2 separate regions of the Homo sapiens genome follow, and region 1 is linked to region 2. The links are contacts of gene promoters, found by promoter capture Hi-C in blood cells and fetal thymus (Javierre and others, 2016). All regions are on one chromosome and are shown on one strand. The core of a region is centred on a gene start or on the middle of the fragment in contact, and the rest is flanking DNA. Distances in the headings are between cores, read along the strand shown.

The links. Contacts are between HindIII fragments. The CHiCAGO score rates a contact against its expected background, and 5 or more counts as called.
Region 1: a contact is called between the fragment with the promoter of STATH here and the fragment with the promoter of CSN1S1 in region 2, in 2 of 17 cell types (neutrophils and fetal thymus). The highest score is 6.0, in neutrophils.

What each region holds. Positions count from the first base shown.
Region 1 is chr4:69,994,387-69,997,439 of GRCh38, forward strand. It overlaps STATH (statherin), which reads left to right and starts at 1,580. Exons shown (of 6, transcript NM_003154.3): 1 at 1,580-1,639. The HindIII fragment of the contact is 2,895 bases long and covers 1-1,591 here.
Region 2 is chr4:69,929,609-69,932,668 of GRCh38, forward strand. It overlaps CSN1S1 (casein alpha s1), which reads left to right and starts at 1,460. Exons shown (of 16, transcript NM_001890.2): 1 at 1,460-1,509; 2 at 2,936-2,998. The coding sequence starts at 2,948. The HindIII fragment of the contact is 13,101 bases long and covers 1-3,060 here.

The DNA of each region.
Region 1 (3,053 bases), core at 330-2,829, 65 kb after region 2:
CAAGACCCCATCTCTGGAAAAATAAAATAGTTACTGAACCCTATGTAACTTTTTTCCACTCAGAATGTAAAGAGATTGTGTTTGTTTTACACATGAGAAGAAACTTTGTATCTATAATGCTTATAAATCTCATGACAAAAGAATAAGAATAATATCTATCTAATTTAATTTGAATTATTTATTTGCCTTAAGAAATGATTTATATTTTCTTGTATATTACCCAGAGAGTAATCATAATTTCCAGTAAGGCTGTTCCAATACAGCATAAAAATTTACCTAATAAATACTTCCTTAAAAAATCTGATACAAAATTAAACCACAAATTATCTTTACTGGTTAAAGCCTAAGGATAACTAATGCATTCAAGAGACAAATATGTGGTTGTTTTTTTTTTTATGTTTTTGTGGAGATACGGGTCTCACTATGTTGCCTAGGCTATTCTTGAACTTCTATGCTCAAGCAATCCTCCTGCCTCGGCCTCCCAAAGTGCTGGGATTACAGACATGAGCCACTGAGACCAGCCTTGTTTCAAACTTCACAGTACCCAAAGAATCACCTGGAGATAATGTTAAAATGCAAACGCCTTAGGACAACCCCAAGATTCTGACTCAGCAAGTTTGCGAAGGTGGACTAAGAATTTACATTTCCACAGGCTCCAGCTGATGCTGTCTGTGATGTTCCCATATGGCACACTCTGAGGAACAATGCACTAGGCTGTATAACTTACCTCAACTTTATATATAAGTTTTTGATATTCGTTTCTTAGTACATTGAGTTATCCAACCAGCAGTGAGTAGGGTAATTTTTACACAAATTTTCCTAGGAATGTAATGAAAACATTTTTTCCTTCACTCTAGTGTAATCATGTCAACACATGGCTGCTATGGAAAAATATGTAGCCTTAAAAACTCCAGGAAATTAAATTGAATTTCCAAATACATATATTCAGTCATATGTGAGATATGTATCAGTGAGCACTTAGAGTCATTTCACCATAAATATAATAATTTTTTATCATATAGTACCCAAAAGATTACTGAATTTGGCAAATGTTTACGTTCACTTTGTAACTTAAAATATTCTAAAGTCAATAGAAGATGGTAAAAGTATGAGATAAATAATGATTTGAAGAAAAACTCTTGAAGTATATGAAGACTGTAATTTTATTATGCCAGTTACCACGAGTTATCAGAGAACATGTAAAATCTTGATAACATGGTAAGTATTATTTGTGTCATAGAGTTGTTCCACCTTGGACACATACTTGTGGAAACATCTTTATCACTGCAATTATTTCTATGCCTGGTTTCCTCCAGCATGCTTTTCTGTCATCTGACTCACTCAGCGCTAGACTAACAGTGGGATTAACATGCAGTGGGTACAGTTGTTTCCTGGTTACTTTGTCTTCACAATCATCTATTGCAAAATCACTTTGTTACGGTTATTTTTATCATTTGTAGAGACAGATTTTGGGCATTACTTTTAGTTTCCATAATGTGATCTCATAATTGCCATTATTTAACAAAAACAAATGGGGGACTTCAGAGTGTTTAAATACATTGGCCCTCTAGGGTAGCACATCATCTCTTGAAGCTTCACTTCAACTTCACTACTTCTGTAGTCTCATCTTGAGTAAAAGGTAATATGTTCATGTATAATCGAATATGTTGTCTTAATCTAGAGTGTTGCTTCCTAAAATCTTTTGAAAACTAATTATAAAAATGTGTATTTATGTAATGATAATTTCTCATAAAGAAACAATTGAGAGAAATGATGACCTTCTTAGGATCTGAAGGTAAGTTGAGAATCTGAATAACTATACATTGAAATCAGCAATCATCATGCAAAGTAAATAATGTGGAATATGGAGACATATTCCAACTTCTCTCCTGATGGAACTTCTGAAAAGCTTTTTATTTCCTTGTCTACGTACTGGCATCTACTCTGCTACTTACTACTTTTACCTTTATTCGAAGTTCATATTTTAAGAAAATAGCATACGTTCTCTTTTTTGCAAATGTATATATTGTTTCACAAGTTTAACTTTTAAAAATTTACTTTTTTCCCATAAGTAAACATTTCTCACTACCTTTTCATTGACCTTTCCATCATTTTAAACAGTTATGTCATTCTGCATAATAAAAAATGTTGTATAACAGTCATGCTTTACTGCCTTACTGTTTTATATTACTTAAGTTGTTTTCATTCAGTTGTGATATGGCAGAAAACAAAGATTTTACTATTTCATATTTTTATTATTTTTCATTGGGGAAATATTTTTTTAAAACCATGACATATATATTTATATATCTATGTCTATATATCCATCTTTCAGTTTATCAAGGTTAGTAAAACAAAACTACTCTTCTATGAGCATTTTTTGATTCCATACTTTCAATAAAATTTACAGGTATAAAATACACTAAAGTTTTTATGCTTTTTGCATCATAAAATGACTGATGGGTAGGTTTATCTATCAGGTGATAGAAAAACCCCAAAGTACATATTATTTTTACACTTACTCTAATACCAGAAATTTCCTTTTTTTTTTTTTTTTTTTTTTAATTTGAGACAGAGTTTCGCTCTTGTTGCCCAGGCTGGAGTGCAATGGTGCAATCTCGGCTCACCGCAACCTCCACCTCCCGGGCTCAAGTGATTCTCCTGCCTCAGCTTCCTAAGTAGCTGGGATTATAGGCACTCACCACCATGCCCAGCTAAATTTTTATTATTATTATTTTTAGTAGAGACGGGGTTTCTCCATGTTGGTCAGGCTGGTCTTGAACTCCTGACCACAGGTGATCTGCCCACCTTGGCCTTCCAAAGTGCTGTGATTACAGGCATGAGCCACCACACCCGGCCAGAAATTTCAGTTTGAATAACTGAGGCAAATCAGTGAATAAGTAACAAAGCAAATGCCATAAATCATGAGTTCTGCTTTATGTTTTGGAGATTTGGGGTTATTAATAACAGTAATTTTTTTTATAATTAGGTAAAAAATATTCTTGTAATGTTTTATCACAAGTTATTGGTAAAAGAGATTAAAATAATGAAGA
Region 2 (3,060 bases), core at 210-2,709:
TCTTTTTCTGTTGTGTCTCTGCCAGGCATTGATATCAGGATGATGATGGCCTCATAAAATGAGTTAGGGAGGATTTCCTCTTTTTCTATTGATTGGAATAGTTTCAGAAGGAATGGTACCAGCTCCTCCTTGTACCTCTGGTAGAATTCGGCTGTGAATCCATCTGGTCCTGGCCTTTTTTTTGGTTGGTAGGTATAGCTTGATTTTGAGTTAGGAGTAAAATAAATCAGTTTTCCTGGGTACACTTCTGGGAAAAGACAAAACCAAGGTACTGTAATACAGCTGATGCTTGTCTCAGCCTCTTAAATGAATCACAGTGAATAGGAAACACTAGTAAGTTGTTGAAATTTATGTGATGTAGTCAGTAAGGAAAACACTAACTAAAGAGAACTTTAATATGGAAAAGTACATCTCTTCTGATCCCCAATCTGAAATTAACCAGTCTGAAATGTGTGTTAACCCAGAATAATGCCCTTTTCATATGACTGTGAAAAGGCTGTAAATATCATTACTATTTTTTTATTTCCTAAAATATATAGTATGATTCTTTTCCTGTAAAAAAGCAAAGTCGCAGTCAACAACAATTTTTAAAAACCCTCTCTATTACAGATATTTTCCTCAGGATATAGTATTTTTCTACATTGTATAATGATAGTTAACATAAAGGAACAGAGTCTGGGATAGGAGAGAGGCATTTTCATTTCTTTCCTTTATTTACTTTTAAAAAACAGGAAATCAGAGGTATGGCATAATTTTCCAAAATCTTTTAAAATTAAAATTAATGAATAAATATTACTTCTAATTAGTCAATGTTATAATTTGTTAAATAAATACTATCACAACCAATATGCCTAAAAGAAAGCAAACAAAAAATTGTCTGCTGTAGCTTAAATATCACCAAAACACATAGGACAGTTGGATATCCTTCTTTGAAAAAAAGATCAGAGCATATACAGTATAAGTTAATCCATAAAGCAGATAGTCACAATAAATAATAGAGGACAAGCTGCATTTTAAAAGGTAAATAAATGATGAATTCTTTTAATGGCCTGGTACACTGATAGAAATTGGAACGTTTCTAAGACCCTATTTTGTCCCCAGGATTTCCATTATAGGAATTGAATTTTTCAAAAGATATACAGAGAATTTTATTAATATGTTCCTGTCAAATTATCCCTTCAACATAAAATCATGTTTTTATAATAGCCATAAATTTGGAAATTTTTGTATTTTAATTTGCAATAATGCCACTTTATTTCTTGTGTAATCTGTTATCATAGCATGAATCACTCCCTGTTGAAAATTCTCAGAATTTCCTGGGAAAGGAATTGGACAGAAAATTAGTTTCCTATTTGGGAGAATTCTTAGAATTTAAATAAACCTATTGGTTGAACTGAAACCACAAAATTAGCATTTTCTAATTACCACATTTAAATAGCGTAAAGCAAAGAGATCGGCCATCATCTTGGTCATCAACACAACTTGCTTCTCTCCAGACTTGGGCTTAAGGTACTGCGTTTACATACAGCAAAATTGCTATCATTTTACATTATCTAATCTCTTTCTTCCACTGTTTACTAAGTATATTTGTACCATTTCCATATGTTTGCAAATATTAAAACTTCTTATGATTTTCTGGCACCTTAAAAATCCTTTTGCAAATTCTGATACCATTTTACAGCTTTAGGTGATGAATCAATACAGTTTTATAAAAATACCAAATCATTTTTTGATAATTTTGTAACTAAAATATATTTTTAAAGTTGATACATAATTTCAGTAGAGGCTTGGGGTAAGCTAATTTAAATTATTTTTACCTAATTCTATGAGAAGTTGTTATGCAAATAATTTCTTATTTTTGTAATTACCATAGCAAAAACCATTTCTAGCAGAATAGTTCAAGGCCATTTTTGTTTCATGTCATTTGGGCAACAAAATTAACTCTACAATGTGAATATCTATTATAGATAATTAGCTATTGATGGCTACTTTGTAATGATTATTAAATTTAGATATTCAGAAAGACACAAATAGTAAATTTATTTGGGTTCAAAAATATGCCTTTTTTATTAACACATTTAGATTCTAAAATTTGTAGACTGAAGCAATATATATAAATGTCAGCATTTGTATGTTGATTAAGGTGTGAACAAATAGTATGTGTGACCTGATTTTTTTTCTAATGATTTCTCTGGAAACCATTTTCCCAGTACATGTGGATGTCCATATTTCGGGGTTCTTGCAATTTAATGAAACTCTGGAAATCAAATATAAGACATGTCAATATTTTGATTCTATCCAATTCAATCATCTTTATATATTTATGTCATGAATATTCCAATGTAGCAAAACACGAAGTTATGGCTAGATTCTTTATTTAAAAATTGAAAGAGATCAATAGCTTTTACATAACGTGCAGACAGGATTTTTCATGAAGACTCTAAAAGAAAAGAATGCTCTCAAATAGATTTAAAAGAGAAGCTCATTTTCAAAACTTTTCAATAAAATTAAATTCCAGTTCTCAGTGGATTTAACTTTATTGCCCACTTTAGAAAATCTGATTTGTCATCTAGGAGGAAAAGTGTTTTCTTTTTTCAATTGTATTTCAATATTAGCACTTCTTTATTTCTCTAAGCCATATTATTACATTAAGAACAAAATGTTATGTTTTAAAGTGTTAGTGAAGAAAAATGTTTGTAAGAAATTAGTATTTCTAAATAATATAAGAACTAAGAAAAATAACTAGAATGGTAAACATTGATATTGAGTAGTAAAGTTTTTAAAATCTTAAGTTTATAAAAATTCACATTACAGCTCCTCAAATCAGCCTACTTTTATCATAATTTGCTCCTTTGTTGAAAAATCAAGAATTTTTTTCAGGAAACAAATTTAACGTAATAATATCTAACTCTTTCTTTTTTGTTCTCTTACATAGGCTCTGATAACCATGAGGCTTCTCATTCTCACCTGTCTTGTGGCTGTTGCTCTTGCCAGGCCTGTAAGTTCAGTAGAGAATTTAGAAAGTCTTAGACTCTTGTTAGAAATGACCTGACACTTCAT